Regions from separate parts of the Homo sapiens genome. Here region 1 is linked to region 2. The links are contacts of gene promoters, found by promoter capture Hi-C in human tissues and cell types (Jung and others, 2019). All regions are on one chromosome and are shown on one strand. Each heading gives the region's core, a stretch centred on a gene start or on the middle of the fragment in contact. The rest is flanking DNA. Distances are from core to core; before and after follow the strand shown. Region 1 holds the start of ACAD9 (acyl-CoA dehydrogenase family member 9). Region 2 has its middle 3.7 kb from the start of TPRA1.

Region 1 (5,661 bases), core at 909-3,408, 1.3 Mb after region 2:
TACATTTGTTTGGCAAAAAAGTACAGCAGCTCAAAATTGAAACAGTTTTTGCAACATATGTATATTTTTCTTTGTTTTACCTATGGGGATAATTTACAAAGGCAGTTGTTTCCAAATACCTTCTTGTGAAGCTGAATGCTAAGCAAGTAAATATCAACCACTGATGAAGAAACCAGGTGAGAGACCTTAGACAAGGTAAAATAATCTGAAAAGATGCCTGCAAATATTTTGCAGTTTAGACTCTACGCCTTGCAGAGTTTTGAGCTCTTTTTTCTTGATGTTGTGTTAGCAATGTAATCTTTTTTGGTGCTGAGCTTAGCTTGCTGAGATGAAAGGGATTTCTTTTTCTTCTCAAGGAGTTGACACAATGGAAGCTGGAGGCATTTCCCAACACTGTGGTCAATGCTACAGTCGGGGAACAAGCAAGTCTCCCCCAAAACAGGGATCGGAGTTTTTAAGGATAATTTGGCGAGTAGGAGCTCGGGAAGTGGGGAGTGCTGACTGGTTGGGTTGGAGATGGAATGATAGGGGGTTGAAGTGAGTTTTTCTTGCTGTCTTCTGTTCCTAGGTGGGATTGCAAAACTTGTTGAGCCAGATTACCGGTCTGGGTGAAAAAGCAGAGTGGCATTCTTCCTGGAGGAGCTGGCTGAAGATCTGTAGAGGGCCCATGTGCCACGTTCAGAGCACTGTTGGGCTGTGAGGTGCCAGGCATGCCCTGCCTCCTACGTGGGCCCCTATGGCCTGGCCTTGAAACCGCCACTGCAAAATTATAACCGAGACAATGAAAGAGATCTGACCTAACCAACTCCATCTTGCTTCTAACCTCCAAGCTGTCCTTGTTCATTCCTGAGCGTAGGCTGAACTAACCTTGGGAAGGAATGAGTTTATAGTTTAACTTCAAAACAAAAATAGCCCTTTCCCGGGAAAACAACAACAACAACAACAAAAAACAACCTCTTCTTGCCTGGGACCAGTTGGCCTTTGGAGGACTAACAAATTAGCTATAAGATTAGAAATTACAGTTTAGAGGCCATACAGCCTTTGGTTGCAAGAGTCTGAACGTCCCCCAAATTGTTCCTGGGAATAACATCACTGTTGTAAAACCTACCAACACCCAGACTGGTAATCTGGCTCAACTAGTTCTGCAATCCCATTCAGGAACAGAAGACAGCAAGAAAAACTCACTTCGGCCCCCTATCAGTCCATCTCCAACCCGACCAATCATGCACCTCCCACTTCCCGAGCTTCTACTCGCCAAATTATCCTTAAAAATTCCGATCCGTTTTTGGGGAGACCGATTTGGCTAATAAAACTCCCTTTCCAACACACCCGGCTCTGCGTGAATTACTCTCTCTCTATTGCAATTTCCGTCTTGATAAATCAGCTGTCTAGTCAGCGGGCTGTAACCTTGGGCGGTTACAGCCTGGCCTGTCCCATCCCATCCAATAGTTCCCATCTCTTCTCAGCTCTCTCTGTAGTTTCTCTTCCTCCGCCTGCCTTTTAAGTTAGTGTTTCCCAGGACAGAGGTGACTCAGTTGTATCCAGACCGCTCTGTGACTGAACACCCACTTTCTTTTCCTTTTCCAAAAAATATATGTAACATACATGTCAACTAGGAACAAAACAGTATCTCAGGAATCCACCATCCAGTTAAAAATGGACCCTTACCCTTACCGTGCCCCTGCAGAGACCCCAATACAGCGCATTTCCCTCATTCTTTTGCTTTTCTCAAGTTTTACCACGGCCTCGTGGCCACAAGTGACAAAAGAGACAAGTGGAGGCAGCTGAGCCGGCCTTTAGGTTTCTGTACACAGGGAGATTTCCCATGGCTGGCATTTATGGAAACAACCGCTGGTATGTGAAAAACAGGTCCGTCACCGCCGTCACGACGGCCAGAGATTATACCCGCCGAGATGCCCGCGGCCCAGGGCCTACAATTTCCTCCGGCCAGCTCCTTTGGCCGCGCAAGCGCAGTGGGGCCGGCGGGAAGCGTAGGCGTGTGACGTCATCAGGCGGCGCGGGCCAGCCAGGTGCACGTGACTAAGGCCTTGGGCGCGGCAGGTGGTAGCCTTCCCGCCCTTCTGGCCTCTCCATCCCCTGCTGCGGGGGACCGCGCAAGCGCAGTGAGTACTGCACGTTGTCGCGGGCCAGTAACGTCATCAGACGTGTGTGTGTCCCTGCGGCGCTAAGAAGGGGAGACTGAGGCTGAGGCTGGGGAACATCGGGCAGCATGAGCGGCTGCGGGCTCTTCCTGCGCACCACGGCTGCGGCTCGTGCCTGCCGGGGTCTGGTGGTCTCTACCGCGAACCGGCGGCTACTGCGCACCAGCCCGCCTGTACGAGCTTTCGCCAAAGAGCTTTTCCTAGGCAAAATCAAGAAGGTAACGCGAGCCCTGGGCGAACCCTTGCTGTCTGGCTCCCGCTTTTCACCCTCAGCTGCAAGACTGGTGTTGAACTTTGTGAGATTCCCCAAACCTGCCAGAGAGATACACCCTGCGGCCGAGGCGTGTTAACACTCCGGATTCCTGAGTTCCAGGAAAACCTTCCCAGAGAAAGGGTGAGACATTTCCAAGACGGGGGACCCTTGGAAATGTGGTGGTGACGTGTTCCAGCTAAATTTTGTCAGGGGAATTCGGAAAACTCTAGGCTAGGTAATTAACAAAGCAGCCTTCATCTCAGCTGGTCTGGTCTGGAAATGTGCGGGGCTTCCTCTCTGATTCCTAAACAGCTTACACCATGTCCCTCCTCAGTCACCTTCCAGCGCCCTGGGGCTTCCTTCCCCAGGTGAGCCCAGCGCCTCTCCCTGCCATTGAGGTTCCTCAGAAATCTGGCTCCAAGATGCTTCCCAAGGGTGGCACAACCCAGCCAATAGTAACAGTTTGGTTATAAAACACTCATTGTCTTCTTAGAGTTGGAAGACTTGGGTTTGGTCTTGGCTCGTTGACTTTGAAACTCAGTTGTTTTTTTTGAGACAGAGTCGCGCTCTTGTCGCCCAGGCTGGAGTGCTCACTGCAACCTCCCTCCTGGGTTCAAGCGATTCTCCTGCCTCAGCCTCCGGAGTAGCTGGGATTACAGGCGCCTGCCCGGCTTTTTTTTTTTTTGTATTTTTAGCAGAGACGGGGTTTCACCATGTTGGCCAAGCTGGTCTAGAACTGACCTCGGGTGATCCGCCCACCTCGGCCTCCCACAGTGCTGGGATTACAGGGGTGAGCCACCGCGCCCGGCCAAGACTCAGTTCTTTCAGCCTTAAAATGGAGATAGTGTTGTGTCTCCTTCACAGATGTGTTGTAGAGCCCCAGTGAGATAAACGGTGCATGGAGAGTCTTCTTAAACTGTAGAGTACTGTGCAGCAGAAGAGAGAGCTGGCTTCAACACTTAGTCTTGTGACCTTGGAGCTGACGGCTGCACCTCCCTGTGCCTCAGTGCATTCATCTACAAAATAGGAATAAACACATTTCTTGCTCTTTCCTTTGTATTTCATTTTATCTTCTAAGGAAACCAACAGTATACTTGCTATTTCGTCGAGGTGCCCTACTTTGAACTTGGCTGAATGTTGGCTGATCCTGTATCACAGAAGTTATTCCCTGGCTTCTCTTTGGAACGTTCCTCTGAGGTTGTCAGGCTGATACCTTTATAGCAAGCAACTTTACAGATGAAGAAGCTAAGACTCAGACTAAAAGCAGTTTGCCCAGCTAGAAAGTGCGGAGCTATGTCTTGAACATATTGGAAAACCTTTTACCCAGGACCTGGGGCAGTGTGGTGCTCTATCCTGGGACTTCCTGCTATCCAGCAGCATGGTGAAGAAAGAACACAGATCTTTCAGATCTGTTTCCATCTTTAAACCTCTGGCACTACCTGCCCTGCCCTGCCTTTACTCTCAGCTGTCAGCTTTGCTTCCCATTCCACTGGGAAAATCCATGCAGTCGGATGAGAAGTTCACAGGCACAGTTACCCCCTCCCGCTGCATATGTGCCGGTATTATCTACATTCTGTTACTGTGAACTGTCTGCTCCTGGCAAAACCAACCTCTCATTAGACTCCAGGTCTTCTCACCTACTCAAGGGTAATTCTTTCCTTTCTCTGCATCATTAACTGTTCTCTCTACTGGATCTTGAGCCCTTACCATTCAGGCATTTGTCCCTAATGGCCATAGAAGTCAGTAATGACCTCTCTGTTATCAAATTGTGTGATCTGTTCTCAGACCTCATCCTACTTGACCCATCATTGGCATCTGACACCGTTCATCCTTCCACCCTGTTGACGCACTTTCGTCTCTGGTTTCTGAATCACTGTTCTCGCCATTCTCTGAATGTTCTAAATACTTCACTGGCTGATACTTCTCTGTGTCCATTGCTGGTTCTTATTCAGCTCCTTGACCGCTAAACAGTGACCAGTGTTTCCAACTAGCCAAGTTGGAATTTACTAAGGCTGGGTCTCGTTTCATCTACAGCCATCTGCTGGGTGACCTTATTTAGTGTCCTGGCTTTAAATATCATCAATATCCTGATGCCTCAAGTTTCTTTCTTCAGTTCAGATTTCTCCCTGAACTCCAGATTCCTTTTGCTTTTTCAGAGTTGGGGGCTTTCTCTGTCACCTGTGCTGGAGTGCAGTGGTGCCATCATAGCTCACTGCAACCTTGAACTCCTAAGGCTCAATAGATCCTCCCACTTCAGCATCCCCAGTAGCTGGGACTACAGGCACGCCCTGCCACACCCAGCCAAGATTCTTTTTTTAATCTACCTTTGTACTCAAAAGCTGTACTAAGAGGTCTAACAGGCATTTGAGATTAATAGATCCCAAACTGAGTTCCTGGTTCCCACCCAATCCTGCTCCTTCCACCAGCCTTCTTTATCATAGATAATGGTGGCTCTGTTGTTCCACCTGTTCAAACAGAACACCTGGAGTCACCTTGTACTCTTATTCTCCTAGTCCACTTCTAATTCCACAGAAGATCTGGTTTTCTCTACTTTTAGGTTCTTAGAATCTGACCACTTTTAGGCCCTTCTGCTGCTACTTTGGATCAGGCCAGTGTCATCTCTCACAGCCTTACTGGGATTAGAGCAGAAACATGGGACATGATGCTTAGAATCTCAGATTGTGTAGGCCAGTGGTTGTCACCCTGCCCTAAGCTGGACCCAAGCTATTCATGGAGTGTCCTGGAACTGCTGCAGGGATGGGTGGGAAGTTGAGTGGGTGGGATTTGGGTGCCTGTTTTCCCTATCAGCAGTCTCAGTCAGAGCCGCCTGCTTCTGTCTGTTTTACATATTTGGTTTCTGCACTAGATTTCTTTGAATAACAGGTTCCACTTTTTTAGATAATTTACAAACTGTTTATTGCAATTGAACTCTCCTCCCCTAAGGCATTGACCTGATTTGATAACATCAGGATCTTTCTCCCACGCCCCTGCAATCTCTCCTGTGTGGCAGGTTTTCTGTGGTTGTACCTGAAGGCCAATTAGTTGCCAGGCAGTCTTATCTGGCCTGCCCACTGGTACCAGAATGATCTCTAACACAGCCCATTGCACAAGACCCAAGTGTCAGTGAGCCTCTGTGTTCAGTGAAGGAGACTGAGCTTTGATATAAAAGGCTGCAGAGTGATGGAGCCATCAGCTTGTTTTTTTTTTTTTTTCTTGTTTTTTTTTTCCTTGAGACAGTGTCTTACT
Region 2 (6,247 bases), core at 47-2,546:
CCACGCGGCGCCGCCATGCCTCGGGCACTCCTCTTAGCAACCCTGCTAGGCAGTCATTATAGTCACCTTTTACAGGGCCACCTGAGGCTTGGAGAGGTCAAATAACTTGACCAAAGCCGCGCAATGAGGAAGCGACACAGCCAGGACGCCTCTCCCCAACTCTAACTTCCACAGTTCTTCACGCCTGTTCCTCTGGAAAGCCCTCCCTGATTGCGCCTGTCTTATCCCCTGGCATCGATGCTGCATTCACCATACTCAAGCCATGCGGGTCTCTGTTTCTGTCCCTCGGCTGTTCCAAGCTTGTTCCTGCTCCTGGCTCTACACCTGTTCCCCCGCAGAGCTGGCTCCTTGCCACATCATGTCCTCTAGAGGGTTTTGTGGACACCCTCGCTGGAGCGGCTGTCCAGTCTCATTTCCTTCCGAGCATCTTAATTCTCACCTGATTGTTTTCATTTACCTGCCTCCCCGTCCAGTCTCCCCACCCTATTATAGAATTCCAGCGTCATGAGGATGGAGCCAAGAGAGCCAAGCTGCAGGATGTCCCCTGCAGCATCCTGAGGCTGACTCAGAGCCTCGTGCAGATTGTAGGCACTCAGTTATTACAGGCACCCCAAGACTCACACCTTGCGACAGCACCGCTGGGCTGGAATGAGATTGGGTCCCATTCTTCTCCTTGCTCCTGTCCTAAAAACACAGGGAGATTGGGGAAGAAACCACCTTGTGATCCTCTGGGACTTTCCCAGCCTGGACCACACCCAAATGTGCATACCTAAGTTTAGGCTTCTATATTCGCCAGAGAGGCTGGGCAATGCCGGCCTGCGTAATCACGAATGACCACAGCCACAATGAGCCGTGGGGAATCCAGTGGCTCCTCAAGTTCCTCCCAGAAAGTTATACACATCACTCTCACGCACATTCAATTGGCCACCGCTTCTAGCCTCCAGAGGGCAGGAAACTGCCACCCTACCATGTGCCAGGAAGTAGAAGTCATGGGACATGTGTGACCAGGCCTAATAACTACCCTCTGTAAGGTTCTTGTATCGGTTCGAACCCTGCGAGCGCGCCGACACACAACACGAGGCGGTGTGGAGCAACATGCTGTTTTTTTTTTTTTTTTTTTTTTTTTTTTTGAGACGGAGTCTCGCTCTGTCGCCCAGGTCGGACTGCGGACTGCAGTGGCGCAATCTCGGCTCACTGCAAGCTCCGCTTCCCGGGTTCACGCCATTCTCCTGCCTCAGCCTCCCGAGTAGCTGGGACTACAGGCGCCCGCCACCGCGCCCGGCTAATTTTTTGTATTTTTAGTAGAGACGGGGTTTCACCTTGTTAGCCAGGATGGTCTCGATCTCCTGACCTCATGATCCACCCGCCTCGGCCTCCCAAAGTGCTGGGATTACAGGCGTGAGCCACCGCGCCCGGCCGCAACATGCTGTTTTAATGAGCGCCTGGGTGCAGGTGGGCTGAGGCCTAAAATGGCATCAGCCCCAAGTGAGGACGCGGCAAAGGTTTTATAGTCTCCTGTAAACAGGAAGTGTCCTAGTCTGACGTAACTGCTACGTTGTACCCGGATGGACTCTTTCTCGATCTTCACGGGTACATGTCTTCCCACCACGGTAGGTGTCTTCCAGCCAGCTCTTGTCCTGCTTCTGCTATCTTGCTGGCACAAGTAGCCTTGCACCTTGGAACTGGGCCTGAGAAGGGAGGAGTTATTCATCTTAAGCTTTCAGGCCCCAGGAAGAATCTTAAACCCTCTATTTTTATTTTTCTGCCTTTTGAGACTTGGAGAATTCTGCATTTTCTTCTCTTGAGTTTTGAACCCCATATCTAAGTTTCTGTGGGATTTTGTTGTATTTGTGAAATAACCAAAGGTATCTGCCTTTGAGAGCTGAGGCAGTGGCTAATTCACTGCAGTATCCACTACACACAGGACAGAGCGTGGCATCTGCAACATTAAATGAATAGTAGCTTAATAAACAGATCTGACTCTCAGGTTCTTCATCACCCTACAGCAGGCTCAGGGGTGGCCACGGCTGACAGTAGGAGATGCTGCTACAGAACTGGGCTCCCTGATAGCCATGGGGATGACAGCAATCCCCAGATAACAGACGCCAGATGGTAGTGCTTAGGCGTGAGAAGCAAAGTGGGTGCAACTGTCATAGGACCATCAAGATCAAGCTCAATATATCACTGGGATAGACATCCTGTGTAGTAAACAAAATGCCTGCACTGGTTCCTTGGTCTATGGGGTGAGAGTGATGGTAGTAAAAGTCAAGTGAAAGCCTCTGAGACCCCACTATCACCACCACCCACCCCGGCCAAGAGAGCAAGCACATAAACAACATCACACACCAGAGAAAATGGCGGAGACTGGTGCCACCCTTGAAGACCAAAGACGTGTGGAGGGTATCCCCCACCATGTACCTATTTAATTCATCAGTCTGACCTTATAAAAATAAACAGAGTGGCAATGGACTATTGCAGATTCAGCCAAGTGGTAGCCCTGACCACAGGTGCTGTGCAGGTGCATTGCTAGCACAGACAGATCAGCACGGCCCCCGCTTCTCAGGGGCCATCTGATCACCACACTTTTTCATCCCTATCAGGGACCATTTGCACTCATAGGAACGGCCAACAATACACACATATGGTCTTGCCCCAGGCCAATGATACCTTTCCCATCCTTTGTCATCACAGTCTGAAGGAGACTGGGCCATCTGAACGTCTTGCAGAACACTGCACTGGTTCATGGTGTCAATGACAATGTGCTAATCAGGATGGATGAGCAGGAGGTGACAAGTACATGGAAAACTTGATGAGACATATGTGCTCCAGCGGGCAGAAGATTAAACCCTATGAAGAATTAGGGGCTTGCCACATCAGTGAGGTTTGTAGGGGTCTGGTGGTGTGGGGCACACCAGAACATCCCCCTGCACACTCCATCACAGAAGAGCAAGCACAATGCTTAGAGGCCTCTTTGGGTTCTGGAGGTAGCAGATTCCACACCTGGGAGTGCTGCTCTGACCCACATATCTCTGGGTCACATGACATCAAAGGCTGTCCCTCAGGCTATGGGACCCACAGACCCCATGATACTAGAGGCATACATGGTGGGAAGATATGCTGTGTGAAGCTTACAGCAAGCTCTGGTGGGAAAAACCACAAAGTAGACCCCCTAGGGTTCTGGAGCAAGACCAGGTCATCTATAGTAGAGAACTAGACACCATTCACAAAGCAGCTCTGCCAGGCTACTGGACCCTGGTAGAGATGACTAGGGGACATCAAGTGACCATGAGGCCAGAGCTGCCCCTCATGAACTGGGTTCTGTCAGGCCCTCTAATATGTAAATTCAGGTGGGTGGGCCTAGCAGCAATCCACTGAGACTGTAAGCAATCCGTTGTACATCCACATCACCTACCACTGCCACAGCAGCTCCTCTGCCTCAGTTCACAACTACGCCAATGGGCAGTTCTTACGGAGGAAAAAGGCTGCGCTTGATCACAGCTGAGCTGGCTCAATACATGGGTCAGATGTAGTACCTGGATGTGCAGCGGTCGCATGGAGCCCTTGAGGATGAAAGCCACAGGCTACAGATGGTGGAACCAGAATGGGGAGGAGACTTGTCCTCGGCGATGTCCTGAAGCAGCTGCCCCAGCGCTGGATGCCTACTGACCTGGGAAGAGCAAACCCCAAGGTGATGTGTCCTGGAGCAAGTCCAGCATGACTGTTGGCTGGGGTCCCAGCTCCTCACTCCCCAAGCCTGTCCCAGGCTGCCTGAGTGTCCTCAAGACATGGATGCTGCCTTCTCTCAGAGTGAGCAAAGCTGCAGTCTTTTTGTAACTGAATCTCCAAAGTAACATCCAACCACATCTGTCCTATGCTGTTGGGAGGAGATCACACAAGGGTGTGAATACCAGAAGGCAAGGGCCATCAGGGCCATAATAGAGGCTGCCTACTCACCCCACCCACCTTTCTGTCTCTCCTACCCTGCCCCCAACCAGTGTTTAAACATGTCCAAGAACCTCTCATCTGAGAAAAAGCCATATCCCACTCCAGTGCCTGTCCCAGCTCTCACAGTCCATTCCACACCTGGGAATGCCTCTCTGACCCATACATCTTTGGGTGACATAAAAGCACTCCAGCCTCCAACTAGTAACTCACATTCACCCTTCTCACTTCCCTGCATCCTACCTGTCAACACACTTCAATGTAGTGTCTGACTCCAGACACACCGGCCAGCCCAGATCTGCTATCGCCAGGGCCACTAACAGCTCCTAGTCCTTATCAGATGACCTCTGGGCAGCCAGCTGACCCCATCCACCATCTTGACTGCTCTCTTCAGTGGCCTTTGGGAGGGCTCCTGATAATCCCCAGCCCTGCTAGGATCTCCTCTCCTTCAGTGTGGGCCGGACCTCAGGACTCACTTCTCGCTAAGAGAATATGGCAAAAGTAAAGGAATATCACTTCCAAGACATGGCATCTGTCTTGTATGGCCTCTCTCTCTTGTTCGCTTGCTCTGAAAGAAACCAGCTGCCAGGTTGTAAGCTGCTCTGTAGAGAGGCCCCCACCCAAGAGCCAGTGGGAAACTAAGTCTTCAGTCCAACAGCCTATGAGGACCTGAATCCTATCATGTGAAGAAGCTTGGAAGGGGATCCTCCTGAAGATGAGCCTTCAGAGGAGACAGCAGCCCTGGCCAATACCTTGCCTGCAGCCTTGAAAGACCTTGAAGAAGAGGCACCCAGTGGCATCGTGTCCAGATCCCTGATCCACAGACACCGAGACAGTGGGTGCTAATTGCTTCAAGGTGCTAAATCCCAGGATAATTTTTTTTTTTTTGAGATAGAGTTTCGCTCTTTTTGCCCAGGCTGGAGTGCAATGGCACAATTTCGGCTCACCGCAACCTCCACCTCCAGTGTTCAAGTGATTCTCCTGCCTCAGCCTCCTGAGTAGTTGGGATTACAGGCATGCGCCACTACGCCTGGCTAATTTTGGATTTTTAATAGAGACAGGGTTTCTCCATGTTGGTCAGGCTGGTCTTGAACTCCTGACCTCAGGTGATCCACCTGCCTCAGCCTCCCAAAGTGCTGGGATTACAGGTGTGAGCCACCATGCCTGGCCATCCCAGGATAATTTTTTATGCAGCAATAGATAACACAAGCCCATGCAGAGTCTCTTCAGCTTTCCTGTCAGCAGCTCCTAGCATCCGAGGTGCATCCTTCACATCCTTTGTTGGTGTCTCTTAACTGTTGGGGTTTCCCAGGTCCCAGGCTTAGACCTTCTCATCTCCCTGCACTCACTCTGGATTATACAACCACTCCCAAGGCAATCTACAGCTTCAGTCCAAACACGCCCTTGAGTCCCATACATGGATATCCAACAGCTTCCTGGATATGTCCCCTCGGCCCAAATTCAGCACAGCCAGAAACAAACTCATCTTCTTCCCCCTTAAATTGCTGGTCTTCCTGTGCGCTCCTATCTCAGCTATCATCCACCTAGCTAAGCCAGGATCCTGGTGTCATCCTGCATGCCTCTTTTGCTGTCCTCAATCACCAACACCTATAGACCCCACTTCCTGGCCGGGCGTGGTGGCTCACGCCTGTAATCCTAGCACTATGGGAGGCCAAGGCAGGCGGATCCACTTGTCAGGAGTTGGAGACCAGCCTAGCTAACAATGGTGAAATCCCATCTCTACTAAAAATACAAAAATTAACCGGGCACAATGGCGTGCATCTCTAATCCCAGCTACTCGGGAGGCTAAGGCACGAGAATCGCTTGAACTTGGGAGGTGGAGGTTGCAGTGAGCTGAGGTTGCACCACTGCACTCCAGCCTGGGTGACAGAGTGACTCTGTCTCAAAAAAAAAAAAAAGATTCCACCTCCTAAACATCTTGTATTTCCAGTTCTCTCCATCACTCCTGCCTCCCTACCCTGGGTCCCAGGCAGAGATGCTTGTTCACTGCACAAAGTGCCTGGCTAAGAGGGTTGCGATTCAGCCCTGCCTCTGCTCACTAAGGCTGCCTGGAACTAGACAAGAACCACAGCAACCTCCTCGTTTGCTGCCTTCAACCTCGTTCAATCCACTTCCACCTGGTAGCAGCCAGAGGGATTCTAAAACCCACACTAGTTCACGTCTCACCCTGCTCAAAATGCTTCCATGGCCTTCCATTGCTTTCAGAATACAGAATAGTCAAACTCTCTAGAAAAACATCTAGCTCTTTTTTGATCCGGATTTTCTCTCCCTCAAGTCTTGTCTG

The links. Contacts are between HindIII fragments. The study calls those that stand out against the background at their distance.
Region 1: a contact is called between the fragment with the promoter of ACAD9 here and a fragment that was not itself captured in region 2, in 1 of the 25 tissues and cell types used here (dorsolateral prefrontal cortex).

What each region holds. Positions count from the first base shown.
Region 1 is chr3:128,877,462-128,883,122 of GRCh38, forward strand. ACAD9 (acyl-CoA dehydrogenase family member 9) reads left to right here and starts at 2,159. Exons shown (of 18, transcript NM_014049.5): 1 at 2,159-2,380. The coding sequence starts at 2,231. It overlaps ACAD9-DT (ACAD9 divergent transcript), which reads right to left and starts at 1,975. Exons shown (of 3, transcript NR_186174.1): 1 at 1,675-1,975. RefSeq lists enhancers at 1,029-1,880, 1,736-2,285, 1,881-2,733, 2,346-2,425, 2,734-3,585. The HindIII fragment of the contact is 32,484 bases long and covers 1-5,661 here.
Region 2 is chr3:127,591,267-127,597,513 of GRCh38, forward strand. It overlaps a transcript of TPRA1 not described here. Among named protein-coding and RNA genes, the nearest start is that of TPRA1, 3.7 kb to the left of the region's middle. RefSeq lists a silencer at 1-119. The HindIII fragment of the contact is 5,167 bases long and covers 1-3,880 here.